Regions from separate parts of the Homo sapiens genome. Here regions 1 and 3 are each linked to region 2. The links are contacts of gene promoters, found by promoter capture Hi-C in blood cells and fetal thymus (Javierre and others, 2016). All regions are on one chromosome and are shown on one strand. The core of a region is centred on a gene start or on the middle of the fragment in contact, and the rest is flanking DNA. Distances in the headings are between cores, read along the strand shown.

Region 1 (4,671 bases), core at 1,570-4,069, 860 kb before region 2:
TTTGGGAGGCGAGGCGGGCGGATCACGAGGTCAGGAGATCGAGACCATCCTGGCTAACACGGTGAAACCCCGTCTCTACTAAAAAAAATACAAAAAAATTAGCCGGGCGTGATGGTGGGCGCCTGTAGTCCTAGCTAGTCGGGAGGCTGAGGCAGGAGAATGGCGTGAACCCGGGAGGCGGAGCTTGCAGTGAGCTGAGATTGCGCCACTGCACTCCCGCCTGGGCCACAGAGCGAGACTCCGTCTCAAAAAAAAAAAAAAAAAGACTTTTGACACCCAATCTCTCTTTGCAGCAATAGCTGCCAAAGTTGTGACTACCAGTAATGTTCTTAAATACTGCCACCTGCTGGAAGTTCTCTAGAAATACTGTGCACAATGTTAAATGAGTGCTTCCAACATTTTCTATTTCAGTCCGAACGTATTCATCTCTATTCTTTCCGTGAAATCATTCACAGCTAGAGACAAAGGGAACTGGAAAATGTAGCAGCAGTGCTGAAAATTTGTATTTTTCTGTTAATTTATGATTTTTTATTGATTTTCATAAGCTTAAAATTGTTGTTTTGCTTATCTTCTCATTAGACGTCGAGTTACTAAGAAGATAAGTTTAAGACTGAGACATATAGTTCAACCAAGACTCCACTACTTGCTAACTTTGTAGTTTTAGGTAAATTGCTTAAACCTTCTAAGCCTCAGTTAACTCTTTTATAAACTGGAAAATTCTGAAGATTAGCGTTACTAAATGTAAAACACTAGTACCTAGTATGCATTTAATTACGGTTGTTTATGGAAACTATGATAATAAAGACAATAGTTTGGAGATTTGAAACGGCTCTTATTGGGGGAGGCATTTGGGATCTTAATCCAAGTCTTTTGTGTGGTGGTGGTGGTGGTATAGCTTCTGCAAGGCCAATGTGCAAGCTCTGATGCTCCCATTGTGGGAGCCTTGGTTAGGGATCACCAGGGAAAAAGTACTGAAGAGATAGCTATGAAGCAGTTATGATGTGCAAGAAGCATTTTGCTAGTACTCTTAGAGAACTTAGCATTGGCATCTTCCCTTGGAGCCACATACCCAGGAAACATTTGCTTAGGGCAAAATGAGGACTTTCCTTCACTCTATGCCCTGAGAGCACTCAACTTCCAACATGAGGGAAAATTGTGTTTTATGTTTCCTGTGTATGCAAGGAAATGATTAGGTGATATCTTTAAACACCAACTCCTATCCCTCCTCCCAATCTCAATGACAAAAAACAAACAAATCAGGCCAGGCATGGTCGGTGGTTCACACCTAAATCCCAGCACTTTGGGAGGCCAAGGTGGGCAAATCACTTGAAGTCAGGGGTTTAAGATCAACCTGGCCACCATGGTGAAACCCCTTCTCTACTAAAAATACAAAAATTAGCTGGGCATAGTGGCATACGTCTTTAGTCCCTGCTACTTGGGAGGCCTGAGGCAGGAGAATTGCTTGAACCTGGGAGGCAGAGGTTTCAGTGAGCCGAGATCATACCACTGCACTCCAGTCCGGACGACAGAGTGAAACCCCGTCTCAAAAAAAAAAAAAAAAAATTAGCCAGGTGTGGTGGCGGGTGCCTGTAATCCCAGCTACCTGGGAGGCTGAGACAGGAGAATCGCTTGAATTGGGGAGGCGGAGGTTGTAGTGAGTTGAGCCACTGTACTCCAGCCTGGGTGACAGAGTAAGTGAGACTTTATCTCAAAAAACAAAAATAATAAATAAATAAAAATGTTTATTCATGTTCCTTATATATGGCCTTTTGAGTTTCTACAAGGTGATATCTACTTTATCAACAAACTGAATGTCCTTTAAGCCCTTTGATTTCAGTTTTATAAGATAGTTGTCTTCAAGTTCTTGTTAGTTTTGCGCAATCTAGACCTCATACCACCTATGGTTAACTGACCAAAGGCACTATTTGTGAAGATCTGTCTGAAGCAGGTACAGGCACAAAAACAAGGCCAAAGCTGAGAGTAGAAAAAAATCACAATTCAACATTAAAGTGCTGGGGCATTTGAGGAACGAAAGTCTTTGTTGGCACATTGCTTTCACACTTACCTGGGATATTCTGCTCCCAGATATGTTCTGGGAACCTCAGGAGTATTTGACTAGCCTGACCCATGCTTGGTCATCAATTCTGGATGAAAAGTATCTACTCATAATCTGAGCATTTAATGGTTCTTGGATATTGTATCTTTTTTTGTTAAGTGGGGCTGTTTTTTCCTGTTTCTTTAATTTTGATACCAGTTTTCACAGACAAAAAGCTGCTCATTTTCTAGGAGCTAACTTACTTTTAATGGCTTAATTTATATTTATGGAATAAAGCAGACAACTGAACTTATTCTTTGATACTGTCATTTTTTTTTCATAATATAAATTGCCCTTCAGCCTAGACAAAACAGCTGAAGCCAATCTTGAGTTACCTATCTTGGGATTAAAGTGACTATAGTAGTGGTGGTAAAGCAGACAAGTTTCATCTAGCTCTTTTGTCCTGTTTTGAGTACTAAATTTTTGAAGGTTTTAGTTATTTTCATTGCCATATATCATAAATTCTGCAGAGTAAAGAATTCTGGCCATTGGAGAACATTGTTTTACATCCTTAATTACTGTACATTAATCTCTTATGGACTCAGTCAACTTTAAACTCTACTTCACAGGGATTGTTAGAAGAGGCAGCTAAGAAAGGTGAGCCTAGAAAAATCCTTTGTCTGGCCTCTCAGTAAATAGGTCTGGAGAACTGACTTACTGATAGAGAAAGAAGGGATACTCTACCTGTCCTCAGAATCCATTCCTCTTTTGCCCAGTAGTGTATTCTCTGTGTCTAGTACAGGGCTTGGAAAACAATGTATTTTCAAATAATGTGTTTGTTTGAATAAATGAGATGAATGGTATTAACAGCCCTCTGCCTTTTAAAAAGCAGCAAAATAGTGACCACCATTGATTTCTGAATCTCCAGATCTCATCACTGGAAAGTTCTCTGACCTATTTCTAGCAGAGAAAATGATTTTCTTGCTCATCATTTTTGGGAGTGCTCTTCTCTTGCCATGCCAGGCATATTCCTCTTCCCAATCAGTCAGAGATCACATGTGGAGCTATTCTTGGATTTTGAAACCATCGGCCCTTGCCAAGGTGTGTGGAATGGCTGCAAAATTATATAACTCTGTATGCATCCACCTTTCTGTTGCAATGTGCCCTTCGTCTCACTCTCTTTAAGGACGGATCTTTATGGCTGGCCCTGAACACAAAAGTAAAATTTGTTTTGTGTTCCTATAAATGAATCTTTGGGGATTAAAGAATCTAGTTTGCAGTCATTTTCTTCTCTGTTTCCTATTCTTATTTTTGTTTTGTTTTGTTGTTCTTTTGTACTTCACTTAAGTTCTCTTGATTCTTCACTCTTAAGTAACTCAGATGTCCCCACTTTTTTTTTTTTTTTTTTTTTTTTTTTTGAGATGCTCTGTCACCCAGGCTGGAGTGCAGTGGCACAATCTTGGCTCACTGCAACCACTGCCTGCTGGGTTCAAGCAATTCTCCTGCCTTAGCCTCCCAACTAGCTGGGACTACAGGCGTGTACCACAATGCCAGCCTAATTTTTTGTATTTTTAGTAGAGATGGGGTTTCACCATGCTGGCCAGGCTGGTTTTGAACTCCTGACTTCATGATCAGCCTGCCTTGGCCTCCCAAAGTGCTGGGATTACAGGCATAAGCCACTGCACCTGGCCCAGTGTCCCCACTTTTTAGTCTCTGTTTCTAAAGCCAGCCTCCCTCTTCAGTCTACTTCAGATCAGTTGCCTTGCAATAAGAACCATCAAGGAAGACAGTGCCTTTAGAAGACTTCTGAAATTGTATTGATAGCCATTTCATTCCATTCTTATTTCCACATCAAATTAAATAAGAAACAACTATTACTCCCCTATCATCTAGTGCACCTTAGCTCAAAGGCATCACAGAACCTACATTTGCTAAAAACTTCTAACTTGAGGCTTGCTAATGCTGGTCTCTGGGGTCACACAGATGATGCAAAACCCAGTCAGTCAGGATGGGATTGAGGAGATTATTCTCCATTGAAGTCCACCCAGGTGGTCAACTGCAGATTTAGGTTGGGTTTGGAGTGGAAGGTCTTCACAGAATGGAGTGCCTTAACAAGCTAAGGATATTAGAATTAATTGAAAAGTGGCAAATAATTACTGCCTCCTTTCACTTCTTGTATCTTTGTTTGATGTCTTTCAAAATTTTTGGAAAATTCTGTTATTATTTCTTTACATATTTCTCTAGACAAAGAGCTTGGCATATTCATAGAACAGAAAGGCTGTCAAAGTCACTGGTACAGAATGAGCAAGGGAAGAGTGATGAGATGAGGAGGGTGGGCATGGACCAGGTTATACAGGTCCTTGTAGGCTAATAGTAAAGATTTCAATGTTATTTGTCCTTTTTATTATGGAAATTTTCAAATGTACACCAAAATAGAGTTATGTAACTACTTCCAATATATACATCACCAGTTCCAGTTACCTTTTTCCTTTCTGCCTTTATTTACTTTCCTCCAACATACTAGGTCATTTAATAGCAAAATAAAGACATAGTTTTATTTGTAAATATGTTAGTATCATTGAAAGATAGGAATTCTTTTTTTTTTGACGGAGTCTCACTCTGTTTCCCAGTGCCCA
Region 2 (4,510 bases), core at 1,167-3,666:
CTTAACTGATCTCCCTGCCACACTTCCCATCTGTCTAGTCCATCAATAGCATCCCCATTCAGGCCATCCTATAAAGAAACAAACTAATACAAACATGATCTTATTTTATTTCTGCTTAAAAAACTCCCCTGGCCAGGCGTGGTGGCTCAGGCCCATAATCCCAGCACTTTGGGAGGCCGAAGCGGGAGAGGCAGGAGGATGGCTTGAGGCCAGGAGTTGGAGGCTGCAGTGACCTGCATTCAGCTTCCTTGTCGCTCCTTATAAATATTACAGAAAATGAGGTTTTATAGAAAATGGGGCTTTCCAGCCTCATCCCTAACAAGCTCCACTACCCACATATCTCATACCCTTTCCTCCAGACACGTACTAAACTAAGGCAGTTTCCTGAACATACTATATATCCCAGTCTATGCCTTTGCCTTTGATGTTCCCTTTGCCTGGTAAAATCCTGGGTGTCCTTCAAGGCCCACTTCAAATGTCACTTTCACAAGAAGCCTTTCTCAACCTTCAGAGACAGAATTCTTTCCATATTCTAATACAATACTCATCACTTTGGTGAGGCCGTATTAGCAGAGTGGTTAAGAGAACAAACTGTCAGGCTGTGGAGGTTTGCAAGCTATGTAACCTTAAGCAAATTATTTACCCTTCCTGGGCCTCAGTTACATCCACTGTAACATGGGACAATAACAATACTCCTATAGCAGGACTGTTGTGAAAACTAAGAATTTAAAAGTACTTAGTACAGATCTGGCAATTATTAAATTCAACACGTTACCTATTAGTTATTAAATAGGCTGTGTGGGTCAATGTCTGAACTACCGGAAAGCAAACACTATGTTTTAGTTATTTGTGGATTCCTATCACCTAACATCTGGCACAAGAGCACTCAAGAACTTTCTCAAATGAAGTGATTAAGAATCACCATGACAATGGGCAGGGGAGGCAGTGAACTGTAATTATTCGGTTAGAGAACATTTAGGAAACATCAGGAATATTGAGATGAAATCGAGCTATATATTATGATATATCTATCCATCAATTCTAAGCACTAATAGCCCAAATGATTGCTGCTCTAATGCTCTGGCTCATCACGCCAATTTTTATTACAATCTTTACTTGGCTTCTTTCAGACTCTGGGTTATTACCTTCCGGCCGTAGGCCTTTACTAATTTGCATGACTTTTAAACTAATCATTAGACTTAAAAAGCAATTTTGCAATTTAAGTCCATGGCAATTAAATGACTTCCTACCTCAAGGCGCTAAATTACCCTGAAACACCTCATCAGACCTACCAGCCTATACAAGAGCAGGAAGTGTTGCAGTTGTGTTTTAGAACGTGCATGGCAGATTCACAAAATGTTAGGCATGAGAGTGGATTTCCTCGCACTGTGGGACTCCAAGTGCCCATAAAGGGCTTCATGCACCTTCTTAAACATGATGTCCAGCACTCTGGCCACCCCTTCCAAGGGTGTGTGTGTGCCTGTGTGTGTGTGTGTTTCAGTGGCTGCGGGGCCACACCTTGGGATCTCCTGAGTGGCAGGTGGCCTGTTAATGAGTCCTGACATCAGAGTCATTCCGGCATTTGTGTGTGTGTGTGTGTATGTGTGTGAGTGTGTCGGTGGCTGCGCGGCCACGCCTTGGGATCTCCTGAGTGGCAGGTGGCCTGTTAATGAGTCCTGACATCAGGGTCACCCCCGCATGCACAACAGTACAAGCCTCCCCGCGCAGCGGACTGTGCCGCGGACGCCTGCAAGCCGTGCACCCATCGCACACACTGAGGTCTCGGCGGTCATCCCTCGTGGGAGAGCTGGACAACCACGGCCGAAGGGAGGGCAGTCGAGGGGGGAATAGGCTGAGGGGCTGGGGGCGAGGTGGGTAGATCCTTCACAGGGCTTGGCGCTCCCTGTGTTTTGAGGGGCAGGACCCTGCACCAACCTCCACGAAGGCATCAGTCAGGTCACTAGCACGGTCCATCACTGGCAAATGGCGCCCGGCCACGATTTTCACCTTCAGCTTCCCTGGCATGGTCTCGGTTTCGGCCTCTTCTTGGGCTCCTGCAGAAACAAACAAACGAGTCTGCGCCGAGCGCGGGGCCGGCGGGAGAGGGGCGGAGGCGCGCGGGGTAACTGACAGCGAAGGAGCGCGCGGGGGCGCGCGCGGGCGCCCGGCAGTCGCGCCACGGGTCGCCACTCACTGTCGCAGGAGGAAGGGTGCTGTCCCGCGCGGGTGCTGAGACCTCATTCCGGAGAGGCGGCGGGAGGAAGGGCTTTGATGGGTTCTTCCGTCCCGGCCCCACAAGGCTGGGACGAAAAGCAAAACCCAGTCAGCATCCCGTTGAGCCTCTGCCGCCCCTGCTTGTCTCTCCTCCCCCGCTCTCAAAAATGGCGGCTCTCGGGGCGCGGAAGAAAGCATCGATCGTTCGGCGCTCTGCCCACTTGGCGGGGCGAAACTAAACTCGCCGAGGAAAGATAAGGGGGCGGGGCTGACGTTGAGAAAGCTGGAGGGCAGGGAAATGGGCCGAGTCCTGCATCATCCACCGAGTGGGGGCTGTGGATAGGTGCGGCGCTGCTTCCCTGGAGGGAAACGCTCCATCTTGCGGGCCGAAGCGCGAGTGCTGCTCTGTGACAGCCTCCGGCCGCGGCCTTCCCAGCTGCTACCGCCGCTTTTCGGATGGGCTGTGATAGATGGAGTAGCAGCGAAGACTGCTAGAAGAGCGTTTTCAGTCGGCCTTTAGTGATTCGTAAAACCAAATTAGCTGGTTTCTACTTGGAAGGGGTACAGGTGCGTGTGGTGGTTCCAGTTTTCTGTGAAATAGAGTTAGATGGCCAGGCACAGTGGCTCACGTCTGTAATCCCAGCACTTTGGGTGGCCGAGGCGGGCGGATCACCTGAGGTCAGGAGTTCAAGACCAGCCTGGACAACATGGCGAAACCCCGTCTCTACTAAAAATACAAAAATTAGCTGGGCGTCGTGGCGAGCGCCTCTAATTCCAGCTACTCAGGAGGCTGAGGCAGGAAAATCGCTTGAACCTGCGAGGCGGAGGTTGCAGTGAGCCGAGATCACTCCTCTGTCTCCAAAAAAAGAAAAAAAAGAAAGAAAGAAATAGAGATACCAGGCACATCTCGAATAGTGAAATAAATATTTAGTGAAATATTTTATTCAGTCATAGGCACTTGTGTTGTGCACTGGGTCACAGATATTACTGTGGGCGGGGTGGGGGAGGTCACCTTGAAATCCAAAGTCTCCTCTTGAAAAAAAGTTTCTGCTGGTAGGTGTGGTGGCTCAGATTTGTAATCCCAGCACTGTGGGAGGCTGAGGTGGGAGGATCGATTGAGTCCAGGAGTTCGAGACCAGCCTCATGGAGACGAGGCAACACAGTAAGACCCCTTCTTTACAAGAAATGCAAAAATTAGCTGGGCCGGTGGCTCGTCTGTGGTCTCAGCTACCTAGGAAGCTGAGGTGGGAGAATCTGGGAGAATTGCTTGAGCCCAGGAGTTTGAGGCTGCAGTGAGCTGCCATCTCACCACTGCACCCCAACCTGGGCAACAGAGCAAAACTCTGTCTCTTAAAAAAAATTTTTTTTTAATTAAATGTCCTGCACTCTTAGATCATCTCAGTGTTCTTATTAAGCATCCACAAGCCTAAAGATAAGACCTACAGTAGTAGCAGAAGTTCAGGACTTCCTACCATGGAAAGTATAGTCAACCACAAGAAATAAACATGGAGAGCGTTAAACATCTTGAAGAATTGACCCAACTATAAATAAAGTAAGGTGTTATCTACAGGCTCAGACCATATTAGGGAAATTGAGGCACACACAAGATGTAAATAAATCAGTCCTTACCAAATATCAAAATCAGCATTGACAGTATACCCAGTATCAACAAAATCAGAGTTCATGCCGGCTCAAAGATTGTAACATTTCATTCCTAAGTGAAGATATCCGTATGATCTTTTTAACTTCGAAAATACTCAATAGAGTAAATACTCCAAACAGTAGTGATCCCGAATTATCTTTTCATGACAAAAATTCCTTCTATGGCAGGAATATTGTTCACATAAGTGAGAAATTGAACTCCTACAGAGAAAACGACTTCCTCAAAATAAAAATCTAAAAAAATCGCTTGCTTTTTGGACTAGAGAAACTTTTATCAATTCAAACTATGTCAAAGGAATAGGGGTCATAGATCCCATGCGAATTTCCTTAGGTCCACCTGCAGCTTTTTCTGGAGTCTGACTCTGCCCTTAAAATACCCTTGCCAGAATTCTGAAGGTTGGCTACACTATGTGATCAACGTTTTTTATTTATTTATTTATTTAGAGACAGGGACTCACTCTGTGTCCCACACTGGAGTGCAGTGACATGATCATAGCTCACTACAGCCTCAATCTTCTGGGCCAAGCGATCCTCCCACCTCAGCCCCCCAAGTTCCTGGGACTACAAGCACATACCACCATGCACCGCTAGTTTTTTAAATTTTTTGAAGAGATGGAGTCTCCCTGTATTGCCC
Region 3 (4,282 bases), core at 1,066-3,565, 840 kb before region 2:
AATGTGAGATCACATTGCTTAGTGTGTGATAGAAGCTTGGGTGTAATAGAAGCTTAGATATGATGGGAGCTGCTGTGGAATCCCCCTGCAGAGTCAAAGTCTGTCATGTTGAAACTCCACACTGTCAAAAGCAATGGTATCTTGAAGTTTGTCTGATTTAATTATGTTGACAACTTCCTAGGAAAGACACCTTCAGAGCCTGATAGAGGCAAGCAGGTGATGAGATGTCCGTTTTGTATGCTGTGCCCACCACATAGCATGATTGTAAATACTTAGTTCTCTTGAAATAACAACTGTGAAGGAGGAGTGCCATGGGGAGGTGAAACGGATGCAATGATCATTTAACTTTTTCTATGGTTCTTGGGCCTGAAAAGTAGGAACACCTCTATGTTCCTGGAAATTGAGAAAAAAAAAATGTGAATCAGAAGAGATCATATATTCCGTATTGCGACTACTCTGAGTCATATCAGTAACACAAACATTTGATAATCATTTCTTAATTAAACTTCTGAACATTTTTTGACATTTTATAAAACAATGCTTTTCCCAAACTAATTCTATTTTGAGCTATCAGAATGTATATCCTGTTTTCTTGCATTTTCACCACCAGATGGCAGTGATAACCTATTCATTCATTTCTTTCTCTTTTTTTTTTTTTTTTAATCGTTCTCTTGTTTAATGTTATTCTAGAAATGAACCAGTAGCTCTAAATTAAAAGTGATGGCCAAAAATTCCCACTTTATTTTCTACGACAAGTCAGCATGCTAGAGTCACAGTTCCCTTGTGCAAAGAAGTGAACAAAACGTGCATGGAGGGAAGCACAGGAAATATCGTGATTTTGTGTGAGAGCTGGAATGCCACTAAGTAATAAATGACTCTGGTAAATTGTAAAAGACTACCTTGGGTTGTGTATATTAAAAGTATATAAATTTCCGTGTGTGTTTGTGTCAGAGAGAGAGAGGTCTTTGGGTTTGGGGTAGAGGTTGTATAAATGTGACTTCAAAATGTCGCCTGTCATAGGCTACCCTTGTCACATTCTAGGGTTAACCCTGTTAAGGGTGAAAAAGTGAAGTTATCAAAAAATGAAGTGGGCCCTTACACAGCACAGATGTACATGACCTCGGTCTTTACTCCACTTAATCACCACTTCCTTACTCAGTTTGTCTTAATATTGCTTATTTCATTTTTCAGATATTTTCTGCAAGAATAGTTTTCTTGTTTAACTATCCTGGATTTACAAATACATGTTTCAGCTTGGAAAACAAAATTTTTTGTTTAACTTTTTGTATTTCGTAGCAATAGCAATGAAAATCTTCTAAAGATTGGGGGAAAAACCTATAATTTTTTTGGACACACTTCTTTAAACTTTGCTTGATGAGGCTGTTTTTAAATGAAACATTCACATGCAAAATTCAAGAGACCGGGAAAAATAGTCTGAAATTGATAAAGTTGTTTGTCCATTGTATTTTTAGTCAGGATTATCTGGACCATTTTTTAACATCTTGGAGTCGTCAGTTGATCTGGTTTTAGTTTCAGCTGAAAAGGACAATTTTCTGTTCTCCTTCAGTTAACCAAGACGTGGTCACAGACCAGGCAACACAGGTTTTGTCAGTGAGATACCATGGAAAGGAAAAGAGGCCTTATAATTATAATCAATAGGTCTGGGTTTGATGGTGTACTTTCAAAGACCACACATATGGCTGTGGGCATGTTTTTATCATGATCTATAAAATGGGGATAATAACGCCTATATGGGGTTCATTGAGATAAAGTCTATGATCTTTTGGCATGCACGCAATAGTCAATAGAGAGTTTTCTTTCTCTCTCAGTTTACCCCCTGGATAAAAGTAGGTTGATTCTGGCTTAAGTTACAAAGAGGAAAAGCTGTGTCTTCCACATTTGTTTCTTCCAGAAGTTTACTCCATAACCATCCACTTCCATGCCTTTCTTTGGTCTGGAATTTTCCTGATGATAAGCTAATGGGGAAAATAATTTTTTATTCTTATGCTTTTTGCAGCCTTTTAAAACACATAATATGCATCTAGAAGTTAAGCTTCTTTACTTAATTGAATAAGAAACAACATTACAAATGAATGCAACATAGTGAAGATTAAATAAGGTAATTAACAGGTCGGTGCTTTGAAACGTTTATTCTGTTATAGGATTGGAAGGATGTAAGAGCATGCTTTAATATAGAAGGTTTCTAAAAGCCTATGTCTTAAAGGGGCCTCTAAGATCCATCTCCACTAAAGAGCTTCCAACTCTGATATATATTTCTGATATATATTTCTGAGCAGATATGGTAATTGGCCTTTATGTTCTGGAATGACACAGATTTCCAAAGGCAGGCAACATTCAGTCTTTCCTACAGTTTCGGCATTGACTGATTGATATTTTATTTTCAAATAGCTTTATACTTTATTTTTGAAATAGAGGATAATGTTCCTATGGAATCTTGGCATCCTGAAGGAATAACTTGTGTTTTAAAAATTTGCTTGGGGACATTGTGGTGTTTAGGAACTCAAAAACCACATGGCACTTTGACAAACCTGTGCAATCAAACCATATTTGTTCAATGAAAGCTTTGGGTTGCCTTATTCTAGAATGTTGAATGCTCAATAGCTTCCTGACTTTGATGTGGTGAAGTTGGAGAATTTTTCATGTGGGGAGTAGTAATCACTTTCTATCTTGCAATGGTGGTACAGGAATTTGTTTTTATGGGAGATGTTCCCTTTCATCCAGGAGTTTCCCAATGCTAATGTTGGATGAGAAGCTCTGAAATCCAGTGAAGGAACCAAAATGCAGTACAGTTCTTCCCTAGTAGCTAAAGGGGGTTGGTTCCAGTACCCTCCACCCCTTGTGGATAACAAAATCTGTGGATGCTCAAGTCCCTTATACAAAATGGCATAGTATTTGCATACAACTGTGCACATCCTCTTGTATATTTTAAATCATCTCTAGATTACTTATAATACTTAATATCATGTAAATGATGTATACATAGTTGTTATACTATGTTGTTTTAAAAATTTGTATTATTTTATTATTGTATTGTTATTTTTTATATTTTTGTCCACAATATTTTCAATCTGAGGTTGGTTGAATCTGAGACATTGGAACCCATGGCTATGGAGGATTGACTGTACCTTCAGACTGAAGCATTAAGTGTACTATTTAGTAATAGTAATTGTATCTATTGGCTGAACTTTGTTTCTGCAAAGTTAGAAATCCTCCCTACCCCATATTTTGATTTATGTAGCCTAAGGCCTCTTTGTTTTAGATAGGTGTGTAGATGCTTCCCTCCCCCAAGAATTTATTCACAGGAGATGGGAAGCTGAGACTCTGTTATCACTGACGGATGCAAAGACTGTTCATCATTTTATGAGGGAAGCCAGAGAAATGAGATGGACTGGGCTTAGTGGAAAAGAACCTTAACATTTGTCCTTCGCAAGGAGTTACGTGCAATTGACATTTGTGATTGTCTTGTCGGGAGCATGTAGCCAGAGACTCCTGTGGGAAGAGATGCGCAAGAGAGAAAATATTGATAGATATGAATGTAGACACACATATACATATACCATAGGCATATCTGTATGTACATACAAAATAGTTTATCAGATCTTACTGATATATTTCCAATTAAAATTAGGGAAAGAGATGTGTGTGTCAGGGATTGTTTTTACTTTAACTACAACTACTTTCTTCTGTATCAAGAATCTTGGTTCCCATGAATGCAGGAGATAATAAAATTAGAATTTCCCGTAATTATTACTTTATCCCATGTTATAAACAGAATAGTCTTAAAATAACCATACCAAAATCTCCACCATGAAAAATTACTGAGAATTGTTCAAATATATTTTGCATATTCTACACATTATGTCAATTTTTTATAACTTCACTACTTTGCTTAAATATAAAACCATTATATATTATACTCTCTTCCTTTAATCTTCACTTCATCTGGCTCTACAAGTAACTATATGTTTAATACTCCTCTTCAGTCCTCATACCGATAATTTTCTATTCATTTTGGTTGTCTAAAGTACCTACCATAGTAGATTCCTAAGGAGGAAAATAGAAACAACATTCCTTCAGTTTTTGCATGCTGATAAAAATTCATGTGTGCCCTTTATACTTGAAGGTAAATTTTGTTGGACATAAAATCCACGGCATACATACATATGTATGTATCTTCAAGTTTATTCTACTTTTTTCTGGGATAATACATTGCTGTCCAGAAGTCTGATGATAATATAATTTTCTTTCCCTTATGTCATTT

The links. Contacts are between HindIII fragments. The CHiCAGO score rates a contact against its expected background, and 5 or more counts as called.
Region 1: a contact is called between a fragment that was not itself captured here and the fragment with the promoter of C2CD5 in region 2, in 1 of 17 cell types (non-activated CD4 T cells). The highest score is 5.4, in non-activated CD4 T cells.
Region 3: a contact is called between a fragment that was not itself captured here and the fragment with the promoter of C2CD5 in region 2, in 6 of 17 cell types (non-activated CD4 T cells, activated CD4 T cells, total CD4 T cells and 3 more). The highest score is 10.1, in non-activated CD4 T cells.

What each region holds. Positions count from the first base shown.
Region 1 is chr12:21,680,210-21,684,880 of GRCh38, forward strand. All of the region lies in intron 1 of KCNJ8-AS1 (KCNJ8 antisense RNA 1), which reads left to right. Among named protein-coding and RNA genes, the nearest start is that of KCNJ8-AS1, 20 kb to the left of the region's middle. The HindIII fragment of the contact is 4,552 bases long and covers 544-4,671 here.
Region 2 is chr12:22,542,126-22,546,635 of GRCh38, forward strand. It overlaps C2CD5 (C2 calcium dependent domain containing 5), which reads right to left and starts at 2,417. Exons shown (of 27, transcript NM_001286176.2): 1 at 2,195-2,417; 2 at 1,936-2,054. The coding sequence starts at 2,025. RefSeq lists enhancers at 658-1,177, 2,318-2,547 and a silencer at 2,058-2,177. The HindIII fragment of the contact is 7,848 bases long and covers 1-4,510 here.
Region 3 is chr12:21,697,409-21,701,690 of GRCh38, forward strand. The region is part of intron 1 of KCNJ8-AS1 (KCNJ8 antisense RNA 1); the gene reads left to right. Among named protein-coding and RNA genes, the nearest start is that of KCNJ8-AS1, 37 kb to the left of the region's middle. The HindIII fragment of the contact is 529 bases long and covers 2,052-2,580 here.